Regions from separate parts of the Homo sapiens genome. Here region 2 is linked to region 1. The links are contacts of gene promoters, found by promoter capture Hi-C in blood cells and fetal thymus (Javierre and others, 2016). All regions are on one chromosome and are shown on one strand. Each heading gives the region's core, a stretch centred on a gene start or on the middle of the fragment in contact. The rest is flanking DNA. Distances are from core to core; before and after follow the strand shown.

Evidence for each region. The method cuts DNA at HindIII sites, captures the fragments that hold promoters and counts their contacts. A CHiCAGO score of 5 or more calls a contact.
Region 2: a fragment that was not itself captured here is called in contact with the fragment with the promoter of SERGEF in region 1 in 2 of 17 cell types (naive CD4 T cells and naive CD8 T cells); the score reaches 6.5 in naive CD4 T cells.

Annotation. Positions count from the first base shown.
Region 1 is chr11:18,009,667-18,016,199 of GRCh38, reverse strand. It overlaps SERGEF (secretion regulating guanine nucleotide exchange factor), which reads left to right and starts at 3,153. Exons shown (of 11, transcript NM_012139.4): 1 at 3,153-3,249. The coding sequence starts at 3,190. RefSeq lists enhancers at 2,436-2,485, 3,844-4,360, 4,361-4,878 and silencers at 2,866-3,485, 5,837-5,896. The HindIII fragment of the contact is 12,002 bases long and covers 1,041-6,533 here.
Region 2 is chr11:18,097,597-18,104,129 of GRCh38, reverse strand. It overlaps SAAL1 (serum amyloid A like 1), which reads left to right. Exons shown (of 12, transcript NM_138421.3): 2 at 784-897. Among named protein-coding and RNA genes, the nearest start is that of SAAL1, 5.2 kb to the left of the region's middle. The HindIII fragment of the contact is 8,611 bases long and covers 1-6,533 here.

The sequences.
Region 1 (6,533 bases), core at 1,904-4,403:
CTGCTTTGATAGCTCTCCAATAACTTGAAATATATTTTAAAAATATTTTGTCAAATTTTCTAGTTGTTTTTTTATGAGAGAATAGGTATGCAGCTAGCTAATCTTCCTTTATCAAAAGTAGAAAACTGACCTTGAAGTAAATAACTACTTTGAGCCTCAGTTTTCTCATCTATAAAACAATGATCCTGGCCAGGCAAGGTGGCTCACACCTGTAGCCCTAGCTACTTGGGAGGCTGAGGCAGGAGGATCACTTGAGCCCAGGAGGTAGAGGCTGCAGTGAGCCATTATCATGCCACCTGCACTCCAGCCTGGGCAACAGAGGGAGACCCTGCCTCAAAAAAACAAAATAAGATAAAATAATAATCCTAACAGCACTTATCATACTAGTATTATTGGGATGATCACAAAAAATAATCCAACGGGAAAAAATTTCCTAACCTTCATGGTACAGAGATGCAATCTGTATGTTCTCAAATACTTTATACTTTCCTCTTTTGGGGAGATAAGCCATCTGAAAGTGAAGCCATTAGATGGTTTAAATCTAGTCCCATTCAAGAACTGCAATTCAGCCAGGCTGCTCATGGGAAGAACTAGGCAGTGGCGAGTACATAGTTGAAATAGTTGCAACATCTCAACACTTCCAATAAATTGTATTAAGGGATATGACATGATAATATAACTGTAGGTTAGTTAAAATATTGATGCTTGTACATTCAAGGGGTGGAGTCAGAAAACAACTATATTCTCCCAGACCTTCTCTCTATTAAAACTGGCTCTGTAGGTAGTTCTTCCTTGCCCTTCTGGATGAAATCTCAGGTTGCTGCCTGACTTTCTGCTTGCTCACAGGTAATAAAAAGTCCTTAGCTCCTAATTTCCATTTCTCTCTCTCTCTCTCTCTCTCTCTCTCTCTCTCTCTCTCTCTCTCACACACACACACACACACACACACTCTCTCTCTCTCTCTCTCTTTCTCATTTCAATATTTAAAAAGGCTAGTCCTGTGGAAAAACTTTGATAAAACAAACTTTAAGGTTGAAGCTTTTTTCCTCCTCCAGAACTGAGAAAGGAGTGGGTGTGCTTAGTTTCTTAATTTCCTTGTCTCTTGTTACTCAGTGGATGCCTGGGACTCCTCCAGGGTTGGGGAGATGTAGAGGGGAGGAGAGGTAAGGAGGAGAAAAGTTCTTTTTGGTCTGATACTGTTGTGAATTGTCATCAGTGCTTTCTGTACTTTGTAAATATTACATGCTGACATTTTCTTGTGGGCATTTTGGAAGACCTTCCCACCTTCTTATTTCTTGGGATTTCTTGATGTAGGTAAATGTATCTCTCTGGGCTGTTAAATTCATTTCCCTCACCCTCAAGGAATCTAGTGATCGACTGTCCTGTGGGTGTCACTTCACCCTTCCAGAAATTCTCTTGGACAAGGTCTAAGACCATCCCCCAGCCAGTTTGCTCAGGTATGGGAAATACTCACATGGGAAATGGACAGTTTTTATTTTGAAAAACTGTGGGTGTGAAAGACCTCCCCAAAGCATCAGTTTGTCTTTGCTCAGCTATTAGAGCAGATATCCAGCCACAAGCCCTTGTATTTCTCAGAACGGATTGGACAGAAGCCTGTCTGGGTCCTAAATCTAGAGGGATGCATACCAAGCTCTCTCAGGGACCCAGGTAAAGTAACTTTCCTTAGACCTGAGATGGGTTGAGACCCACACCACATTGATAATTGTGGCCACATATCCTACTAGAATTCTCTCTGGCCTCTCAACCTTTTTCGTAGACTGAAAGTCATACACTGGTTTCTAGACAGTTGCTTTGCAAGACCTGCTTTGGTGGTCTTGAACCTTACTTTATGATATAGGAGTAACTGGCACTTGTTGCTCAGCCAAAACTGAGCGGTGAAGGATCCCATTTTTACATCCTGTTACACATGCTTCAAAGAAATGGTCAGCACAAAAAAGCCCACTCATAAGACAGTCAGTAAGCATGGTATAGCTCCTGCACATTCAGATCCCTAGAGAATGAAGAGCTGTTTTATCTCTCCAAAGTTTGCTTTTTTCTTGGTATGGTCATCGACGTTCTCCAGATGCCACAGGTTGGAGAGATAAAGGTGAGGGGCTGCCCTCAAGTGGTCTTACAGGCAGAAACTCCTAAAAGTGGATGGAGTGAAAGAACAGGAAAGGACAGTGTAAGAGCTCATTGGAGACACTTCCCAGAAGCCCAGGGGTGAAGGGCAGTGAGTGCTGGAGGCCCGTGTCAGCAGAGGGGCCAAGTGCTACCGAATGTGAATGTGGATGATCATCTTTAATGTGACCCTATGTGTTCTGTATTCCCGGTACGCGGTGCCATATTTTCCTTCAGATAAATTGAACTTAATTAACTCCCATCAGCAACACGACGCTGTCTGAGAAAAGCCATTTTATATGGAAATGTTCGTTGGGTGACGATTATCCAGTATTATTAATAGAATGAGCTCAGGGCCGTGCCCGGAGCGCCGAGGCTGCCCCGGCAGGAGTCGACGCTAACCAGCCTCCCCCATTCAGCGTCGCGAGGCGCGGGTTCCCGCTCCGTGCCAGGTGCAGAGGGCGACACCGGCGACGTGCCACTCCACTCGCCTCCCAAGGCGCCCCCTCAGATGTTTGCGAACGCACACCAAAGCGGGCTCAAGACAATTGCGCCTGAGACGCCGGGCAGGACCCTGCCCTACCCCTCAGGCTCCATTTCCTGTTCCCGCAAATGGTGATGCCATCGCTGCCCTGTCAGCCCCTCTGGGCTGTCGTGGGCCTCCAAGGAGACAAAAACGCGAAGGAGCTTTGTGAACTGTGGCGCGCAGTGCACCTGCATGAAACATGAAATTATGACTAAAAATAAAGAGTACGAGGGGGTAGGAGCGAGAGGCTGAGAGGCCCAGCGAGACAGGAGGCTGCGGGCGGAGACGCTGCGAGCGCCGCCGGGGCGGGCTGACTGGGAGGCGGCTCCGGGGCTGTCGTCCGGCCCCGCCCACCACTGATCCCCAGTGGCCCGAGGGCCCGGCCGCACCCTCTCTCCCGGCCTGCGGGCCGCTTCCCACCACAGACCCCGCCCCGCGCCCTACCCATCACGCGTCCCCGGTCCGGCTCCGGCGCTCACCTACCCCCGGCAGGCGCCGCCCCCGTGCCGTCCCTCCCGGAAGCGCCGGCGGAGCGTCCTCGCATGGAGCGCGAGCCCAGCGCCTCGGAGGCCGCCCCCGCGGCGGCCGCGCTCTTCGCCTGGGTACGTGACTCCGCCCCCGGGCCGGTGCAGGCCCTGAGGGGCGCCGAGATGTGGGAGCTGCTGGCCGCGGCGTGGGCAGTTCAGGGGCTGGGCGGCTGAGGTCCGAGCCGGGCTCTGGGTTGAAGGATCCTGGGCTGGGAGCGGAGGGGGAGCGGAGGAGGAGCGGGCGGGCGGGGAAGGAAGGGTCTTCGCGGTCGACTTAGGGGCCTGCCGGCTGGCGGGGTCAGGGCCGGAGGGGCTGTGGCGCCGCGGGAAGAACCTGCCTCGGGGCAGAGCGTCTGGTTCCGCGAGAGCCCTCCAGCCCGAATAGCGCCTGGAAGACAGCGCGGAGGGCTCGGTGGAGAGGATCGCCCGGTCCCAGAGCTCCGTGGGGCCACCTGTGCCCCCCACACTCCTGATGCCTGGAGGAGGGAGACCCTGTCCCAGCCTGGCGAAAGCATCCTTTAGATGTGAGGCCTGCGGTGTTTGGCCGCGCACAAGGCACAGACCCTGCCTATTTGCTGACACTCTGCTGTGACCGGTTCTTGCATGTGTTGGGGGAGTTGGGCTGCTGTTGGTTTGACGGGAGCATTGGGAGAGACAGGGTCATCTTGATGTGTGTCTGGGAGAGAGGAGGGTTCATGCACAGGAGCGTGGCAGGTGGCCGACCAGCATGCACGGGAACAAGCAGTCGCTGCGTCTTGTGCTTCTTCATAGCACGTATCACAATTGTAATGATGTGTATAATTTATTATTAACGTCAGTCTCTCTGGCTGGAAAGTAAGTGTGGTAAGAGTGGGTGCTGTGCCTGTCTTGTTCACGGTGCCTCTCTTGGTGTCTGGCACATTGTAGGTCCCCAGTAAATACTCGTTGACGAATGAATGAACGAGCATCTGTGTGCCTACCCATGTGCTGGTGTTGGGGAAATACACATGAGTGAAATACACGAGTGAAGGACTTCCAGCTCTTGTGTTGGGGGAGAGCAAAATTATAACCTGTATTGCTGTTAAAATCAGTATTAGTTGTCCAATTTTTAAAGAAGTAATGATCAGTACAAGGCGGCAATTGTTGAATGTGGGGCTGCAATTTGGCAGGAGGGAGAGCATGGCGTGACCTGCGGTAGTCTGGCTGGCTGGGCGTCTTTGAGGTGGCCCGGGAGCTGGGGGTGGAGTTGGGGATTGAATGTGTGCTGTCTCTGGCTTTTTCCAGGCAGGAGACTGGCGTCTGTGTGGACAGAGGAAACAGAAATATTGTTTCAGTACAGACAAAGCCGAATATTAAAGGTTGTAAAATATGTTTAATAGGTTGTTGACACCCTTCTGCTGTGTTTGGAGGACTGGTAGTGTGTTTTTCCTGCTGTATAATCTGAAACTGTGGGGGTGTGTTGGTCGGCTAGGGCTACCATAACAAAATACCACACAACAGAGGCTTAAACAACAGAAATTTATTTTCTCACAGTTCCAGAGGCTAGAAGGCCAAGATCAAGGTGTGAGTAGGTTTGGTTTCTCCCGAGGCCTCTCTCTGGCTTGCAGATGGCCGCCTTCTCACTGTGTCCTCACATGGCTTTTTTCACTGTGTCCTCACATGGCCTTTTCTGTGTGCGTGAGCATCCGTGGTGTCTCTTCTTTTAAGGACACCAGTCATATTGGATTAGGGCCCCACCCTTATGACCTCATTTAACCTTAATTGCCCCTTTAAAGGCCTTCTTTCCAAATACAGTAAGGTACTAAAGGTTAGGGCTTCAACACGTGAATTTTGGGGGAATAAAGTTCGGTTCACAGGAAGGGGATTTACCTTGTTAGGGGTGTGTGTGTGTGTGTGTGTGTGTGTGTGTATGTGTGCATGTGCACGTGTGATATGTCTGGAGTGTTTGTGAGGAAGAAAGGCAAACAACAGTTGTAATAGGTTGTGTTAAATTTCCCTTCGTCTTGCTTTATCCTGGATTTAGGGCCTCTCACAGTGTTACAAAAATTGGTACCGTAATTTGAACCTCAGAGTGCCCATGTGTCATGTTACTTTTCTCCCAGGTGTTCAGCAGCCTTGCACCCCTGGTAATGGGACAGCCACGGAGATCTCAGGGCTGACCAAGAAATCCTGTGCATATATGCTCTATATTCCCCTTCATGCTGAGCAAGTCTTTCATAGGGTCTTACATTCATTCGCCATATAAATATATGTACATCTTCTTTGGGCCAGCACAGTTTCAGATGCAGGGGAAACAGCAGTGAGCAAAGCAGAGTTCCTGCCCTCCTGGAGTTTAGTTTCTGGCAGGGGTGGTGTACAGTAAACAAGTAGTCATATATAATGTAACATCAAGAAGTGGCATGAAGAAAAATAAAGCAGAAAATGAGTGATATGGGGATGCTCTTTTAGATAAAGTCATACAGTTAACCACCTGTCAGGTAAGCTCTGGGCTGCTTCACTGTATGTCCTTTTTTTATTTTTTCTAAGAGACACAGTAAGGTATAGTAAAAGGTGCAGGGCATCAGACTTTTTGCCTACCCAGATATAACTATGGAAAGTTACTTAACCTCTCTGAGCCTTAGTTTCTTCCTCTGTGAAATGGGAGTAATAATGTCCTTCTTAGTTGTTGTGAGGATTAAAGGTGAATGCACAGTATGGAGAGAAGCACTCAGTAATTGGTAGCTAATATTGCCCCCTGTGGGCTTCTGGGACTTATGCCCCTGCTATGGCTTACTCTTCCATCTTTGAGTCCTTGCAGCCCAGGATGGCTGTGAAATAGACTACAAGGGGAAGGATTATGTATGTATGTATGTAAGTATGTATATATGTATTTGTTGTAATTATTTTACATCACCTTTCCTCATTCAGGTGTCTTCAAAAACAAACATATTTAAAAGATTTTACTTCTCATCTCCAGGAAGAACCAGCTAGGAGTAGGTACTTGAATAAATTATAAAGATTTCTGAAATCTTAGTAAGATTCTCTCTGCAGGTCCACAATCCCTTGTCTTCAATTCTGAATACAAAAAGCTCTGAAAACCCAAAACTTACTGGACATAAGGCCATTTATAGTCTTTGGCCACTTCTTATGAATATTTGTACTTTGTAATGCAGAAATATTATTGTTTTGCTTATGGGCTGCTGTCCCTGGACCTTGCATCAGTATATATGACATATGTACTGTATTACTTTTCTAAAAGCTGTAAAATTCTGAATCTGAAATACATCTGACTGTAAGCATTTCAGATTAGGGATTATGGACCCTTTTTGTATAATAATAATAATAATAGACATATTGCCTGTCAAGGGGAAATCTGTCCCCTTACTGGAATCTCACCATGT
Region 2 (6,533 bases), core at 2,749-5,248, 87 kb before region 1:
GGCATATTTCTGGACACAAGAACATCACCAAACTTCTAAATGAGGACCTAAAACACTTCTAATATTAAACATTGAGATAAATGTGAGCTATAATACGTTTAGGAAAGGTTAATAAAAACAAGATAATTATTCACCCAGTTTTGGTGAGTTAGTGAGTGATGGTGGTTGTAGTGATTATCACTACAACCTTTATTCTTTGATTGTGTTAAATCAAGGAATAAATGTTTACAAAGCAAAAATGATCACCTCTTACTACTGTACAGTCCAAAAACAATAACAAATAAGGCAGGCTTACTGAGCACTTTCCTACCACATAATTATTGTCACGCATCTCTATGGTTATTGTCTTCTTTACAGATTTTTGTTTTATAATAATTTGTATTCATCCATTTCCCAACCCACTTGCTCTGGTTCAGGGTTGAGGGTGGCTGGAGCCTGTACCAGCAGTTCAAGGTGCAAGGCAGAAACCAGCCCTGGACAGGATGCCATCCCATCACAGGTACACACACACCCACACTCACTCAGATTGGGACCATTTAGATACCCGTTGTGCTAATGTGCAAATTTGGGGGATGTAGGAGGAAACTAAAGTACCTGGAACAGACTCATGCACTCTTGGGGAGAACATGCAAACTCCACACAGACAGTGGCCCTGGCCAGGAATCAAATTTTTTTCTCATCAGCGTTACGAGGAAATGTTATTTGATCACCTGCTGTATTTGGGTACCTGGTTAGTATTGTAGACAACTTTTATTCATGTTTTCTTTCTTTGTGTTTCTGAAGATTGTTAGCCCTGAAAACACCAAATCTAGCTCAGATGATGAGGAGCAGCTGACGGAGCTTGATGAAGAAATGGAGAATGAAATTTGCAGAGTATGGGATATGTCAATGGATGAGGTATGAGGCTGGAAACAAAACTCTGAAGACTGTTGGGTGAGGAGATGGTGAATGAATGTTTTAAAAACGGTTCAGTCCTTCACTCTGGGGAAAGGCTTTATCTCCTGTCTGTAATCACACCCATATATGATATAGGGAATGAGATCCCAGGGGCTATAAATGCTAAACTTCTGTCTTTGAGGCTGGAGGATTTGAGCTCTCAACAGATTCGGACTAAATACGTAGCTCTTATGAATGTATTCCTATACACATGTAGGCCGGGAAAGTTCTGATACTTACCTACCTAAAGAGAGCTCTGGCCATATATTTGACAGCAGGTTAGGAGTTAGAAGACCACTGATATACCATGATAATATTAGAAGGAAAGGACAATAAATAATTATATGTCTGTAATTGCAGTATTAATCATAGTGTTTTAATATCTGTATTTTATTCTATAGCTCAAAAGCATTTTCATATATAGTATTCTATTTGATCTTCACAATAACCCTGTGATGTAGGTAGTACCCTTATTTTACAGTTAAGAAAATAGAGGCCAAAAGACATTAAATGACCTATGTAATCTTTCTTGTTTTATTACCTGGACTTTAGCAATAGCTTCCTGATTAAAATCCTTGTTTTAGTCTCTTTCACCTCCCTTCTGTCCTCTACATTGCCACCCGTGTTACCTTTTTTTCCGGAAATACAGACTTAATTGTACTCATTTTCTTAAAAATTGTCAATGGCTATTCATTGTTTCAGTCATTTTATTTAAAACTTTATTGAGGTATAATTAACACCAAAAAACTGCATATTGTTTTGAAGTATCATTGACATTGATTTTTTTTTTTTTTTTGAGATGGAGTCTCTATCACCTAGGCTGGAGTACAGTGGTGCGATCTCAGCTCACTGCAATCTCCGCCTCGAGGGCTCAAGTGATTCTCCTGCCATAGCGTCCAGAGTAGCTGGGAGTACAGGTGTGAGCCACCAATCCCTGCGAATTTTTATATTTTTAGTGGAGACAGGGTTTTACCCTGTTGGCGAGGCTGGTCTTGAACTGCTGACCTCAAATGATCCATCCTCCTCGGCCTCCCAAAGTGCTGGGATTATAGGAGTGAGTCACCGCACCCAGCCAATAAACTTTGACGGATGTGTACGCAGATTAAGCTGTCACTGTAATCAGGATACAGCGCATACCCATCACCCCTGAAAGTTTCTTTATGGTCCTTGGTAGTCTCTTCCTCTTGCCTCTCCATTCCTCCATCCCCTCCAGGCAACCACTGATCTGCTTTCTGTCACTACAGATTAGTATGTATTCTAGAGTTTTATATGAATGTGCTCATATGCTTTTTTTGGTCTGGCTCTTTTATACAGCATAATTATTTTGAGATTCATCCATGTTGTGTATATCAGTGGCTTTTTTTTTTTTTTTTATTGCTGAATGGTATTCCATTATATGTATATACCACAATTTATTTTTTACCTGTTGATGAATGTTGGAGTTGTTTAAGGCTTATTACAGATAAAGCTGTTGTGAACTTTTGTATACAAGTGTGTATGGACATATACTTTGTTTTTCCTTGGGTGAATACCTAGAGTGGTGTGTTAGTCCATTCTCATACTGCTATAAGGAAATACCTGAGACTGGGTAATTTATGAAGGAAAGAGGTTTAATTGACTCTCAGTTCAGTATGGCTGGGGAGGCCTCAGGAGACTTACAATCATGGCAGAAGGGGAAGGGGAAGCAGGCACCTTATTCACACGGTGGCAGGAAGGAGAAGTGCGAGCAGGGGAAATGCCAGACGCTTATAAAACTATCAGATCTCATGAGACTCACTCATTATCATGAGAACAGCATGGGGGAAACCACCCCCGTGATTCACTTACCTCCACCTAGTCTTGCCCTTGATACGTGGGGATTATGGGGATTGCAATTCAAGGTCAGATTTAGGAGGGGACACAGAGCCAGACCATATATCAAGTGGCATGGCTGGATCATACGGTAGGTGTATGCTTAACTTTTTAAGAAACTTTCAATTTGTTTTCCTAAGCAGTTTTTTACCATTTTACATAACCACAAGCAGTGTATGAGACATAATTCCAGGTCCAATTTCTCCTCAACCTCACCAACACTTAGTATGGTCAGTCTTCTTAATTTTAGCCATGCTAATAAGTATGTAATGATAGCTCATTGTGATTATAATTTGGACTTCCTTAATTCCTAATGATGAGCATCTTTTCATGTGTTTATTTGTACTCTGTGTATCTTTTTTGGTGAAGTACCTGTTTGAATCTTCTGCCTGCTTTTTAATTGTGTTGTTTTCTTACATTTTCTTCTAAAAGTTTTATAATTTTAGGTTTTACATATAAGTCTGTGATCCATTTTGAGTTGATTTTTGTATAGTATATGGTGCAAGGATGGATGAAGTTTATTTTTTTGCTTATGGATATTTAATTGTTCAAGTTCATTTGTTGAAAAGACGATCCTTTCTCCACTAATTGCTTTTGTGTCTTTGTCAAAAATCAGTTGTCCACATACTTTATAGTTTGAAATCTTTTCTTTTTAAAGATAGACATCAAGCACTATAGAATTTTCCCTAAATATTTATGCTTTACCAGTATTCCACAATTTCTGATATGCTGTGTTTACAATTTTTTTTGAGACAGAGTCTCGCTCTGTATTTTTTGTAGAGATGGGGTTTTGCCATGTTGGCCAGGCTGGTCTTGAACTCCTGGCCTCAAGTGATCCCCCTGCCCCGGCCTCCCAAAGTGCTGGGATTACAGGCGTGAGCCACCATGCCCGCAGAAGTTCAGAATACTTTCTAATATTCTTTACTTTTTCTTTGGTTTATAGGTAAGTTTCAAATATTTGGGAATGTTTCAGTTATCTTTCTCTTGCTGTGGTTGGTGAACACTGAATCCTTTTAAATGTGTTGAGATTTGTTTTATAGCCCAGAATATGGTTTTAAGTAAACCTGAAATATTTACCATGTTGACTTAAAAAGCATGTGTGTTCTGCTGTTGCTGGGTGGAATATCTTATTCTCAATGTCAGATCAGGTTGGTTGAGAGTATTGTTCAGATCTACTTTCTATTCTACAATTATTGATAAATTATGGTTAAACAAATTTTTTTAAAAAGAAATAAAACCTGTGTTTTAAATGAACTCTTAGGGTGAAAGTCTCAGTTTTAAAATTGAGAAAACAGCGCTACTGTTTGAAGGAGGTTATTGGTGCAGGGCAAAGTCATGTTCTTTGGCCTCCTTTTGCTCCCTTACAAGAGGTGCCCTTGAGGCACCACTCAGAACTGAGCTCTCCACTGACAATTGAGGTCCCTGGCGCAAAGTCTGGTGAGTTTATATCTCAGTCTTGTCGCCTATCGTTCTGTAACCATGAATTCAGTGTGCGAGGACCAGAGACCTCCAGATACTTCCTGCACTTTCACGTGTCCATGGGCACTATTCATGCCGCTCTGCTTAGAATGGCTTCCAGCTGGCAAAATCCTTCTCATTGTTTATGGCCCGGCTTCAATGTCACCTCCTCTGTGATGCCACCCCAGACACTCCAGTCAGAATTAACCTGTCTTGTTTTGGTGTTCCCACAGAATTGCTTCACTCTGTTACATGTGTCCTCTGATGGATTTAAATTCCTTCTCATCAAAGCATAATGTCACCCCTTCTGAAATGCCTTCTTTTCAATGTCATGTCTAAAGTAGCCCGCTTTATCTTGGTTTCTAGCACATATCTTATTTTCTTTGTAGCATTTAGAAATTGTGTAGTTTAGTTGTTTTATATTTATTGTTTGTTCATTTCTTTAGAATGAAAATTCCATGGGACTGAGCCCTTATTTAGCTTGTTCACTGATGTATCCCCAGAACCTAAAACAGTGCCTATTAGGTTTTTCAGAAAATATTTGGGGAGTAATGAATGAATAGATGAATACCTGAGAGGTAGCATGTTGTGCTGGTTAAGAACATAGTCTCGCTGGGTACTTGCCTGTATTCCCAGCTATTTGGGAGGCTGAGGCAGGAGGATCACTTGAGCCCAGTAGTTGGAGGCTGCAGTGAGCTATGATAATGCCTGTGAATCTGTGAATAGCCACTGCTCCAGTATGGACAGGATAGCAAGACCCCCATCTCTTTTAAAAAACAAGACCATAGGCTCAAATCAGACTCATGGGTTCAAATCCTAGCTTTGCTCTGCTGAGACTGTATAATCTTGGGCAGGTTGCTACACTTTTTAAACTTCAGTTTGCTTATGAGTGTAATGGGGCTAACAATGATAACTAGTTGATAGAGTTGTTTTGAGAATTAAATGAGATAGCATGCAAGCCACTTCACTGTGCCTGGCATTTAATACTTGTTCAATGAATGTTAATTTTATTACTGTTGGTGTTGATATTGTTAGGCCACCCTTGTGCTACTCCAGGAATTACCATTAAATTTAAAAATTTCTGCATGTGGCAAAGAATTGCCCACAGGACAGCTTGATCACTTACAGTGAAGAGAATCTGCCATTATGACTTTCAGTTTAGAGTGTATCTTTGAAAATACTATTTTCTCTGACCATGGTCCTTTAGTAAGTAGAGTGTGTCTCTCTCAGTCAGTTGTCTGGCAGGTTACTGGTTTCACTTGCTGTGGAGAATAATTGCCTGTCTCTTTGAGATGTTCCAGGGCCCTTAATTTTCACATAAGCCATGCAGCTTATATTTTAAGTTAAGGCTTCTCAAATACACACCTCACATTTAGTGAAAATCTGAAGCAGTGGACAGCCAGAGACTTAATTTTATTTATATATTTTACATTGCAGGTCCCCAAGCAAACTGACTTAGCTTTTGTGTCTTACATTCCTAGGTGAGATTTGGCTCATTTGGGGCCACATGTCCACTCACATGTCACCTGTGTGTTACGCCCCTTTAGGCACTGTGGCAGACTCTGTAGGAAGAAGTTATGAGGCTGCCACAGTTACATTGTGATCAGAATTTTTATTCTATTGATGATTTTGAAAACACAAATTCTGGTTTTGGACAGGACCCAATAGCAGTTCTTGACTTCTTTCCCCTACCGTGTTTTAAGCTCTTGGAGGACAAGAAGGAATTTTGTTTTTGTTTGAGACAAAGTCTCACTCTGTCGCCCAGGCTAGAGTGCAGTGGCGAGATCTCAGCTCACTGCACCCTCTGCCTCACGGGTTCAAGCAATCCTTCCACCTCAGCCTCCTGAGTAGGTGGGACTACAGATGGTACACCACCATGCCCAGCTAATTTTTGTATTGTTTGTAGAGATGGCGTTTCACTATGTTTGCCTAGGCTGGTCTCGAACTCCTGGGCTCAAGTGATCCGCCTGTCCTGGCCTCCCAAAGTGTTAGGATTACAGGCGTGAGCCACCTCGCCCAGCCAAGTTTTACCTTTTTTTTTTTTTTCCTTTTTTTCTCGCTGTGTTGCCCAGGCTGGAGTACAGTGGCAAAGTCATGGCTCACTGCAACCTTGAGCTCCCCAGGCTCAAGTGATCCTCCCACCTCAACCTCCCAAGTAGCTGGGACTGCAGGCATGTGCCACCACACCTGGCTAATTTTCGTATTTTTTGTGGATATGGGTTTTCACTATGTTTGCCCAAGCTGGGCTCAAGTAATCCACCCACCTCGGCCTTCTAACCAGCCTCCCA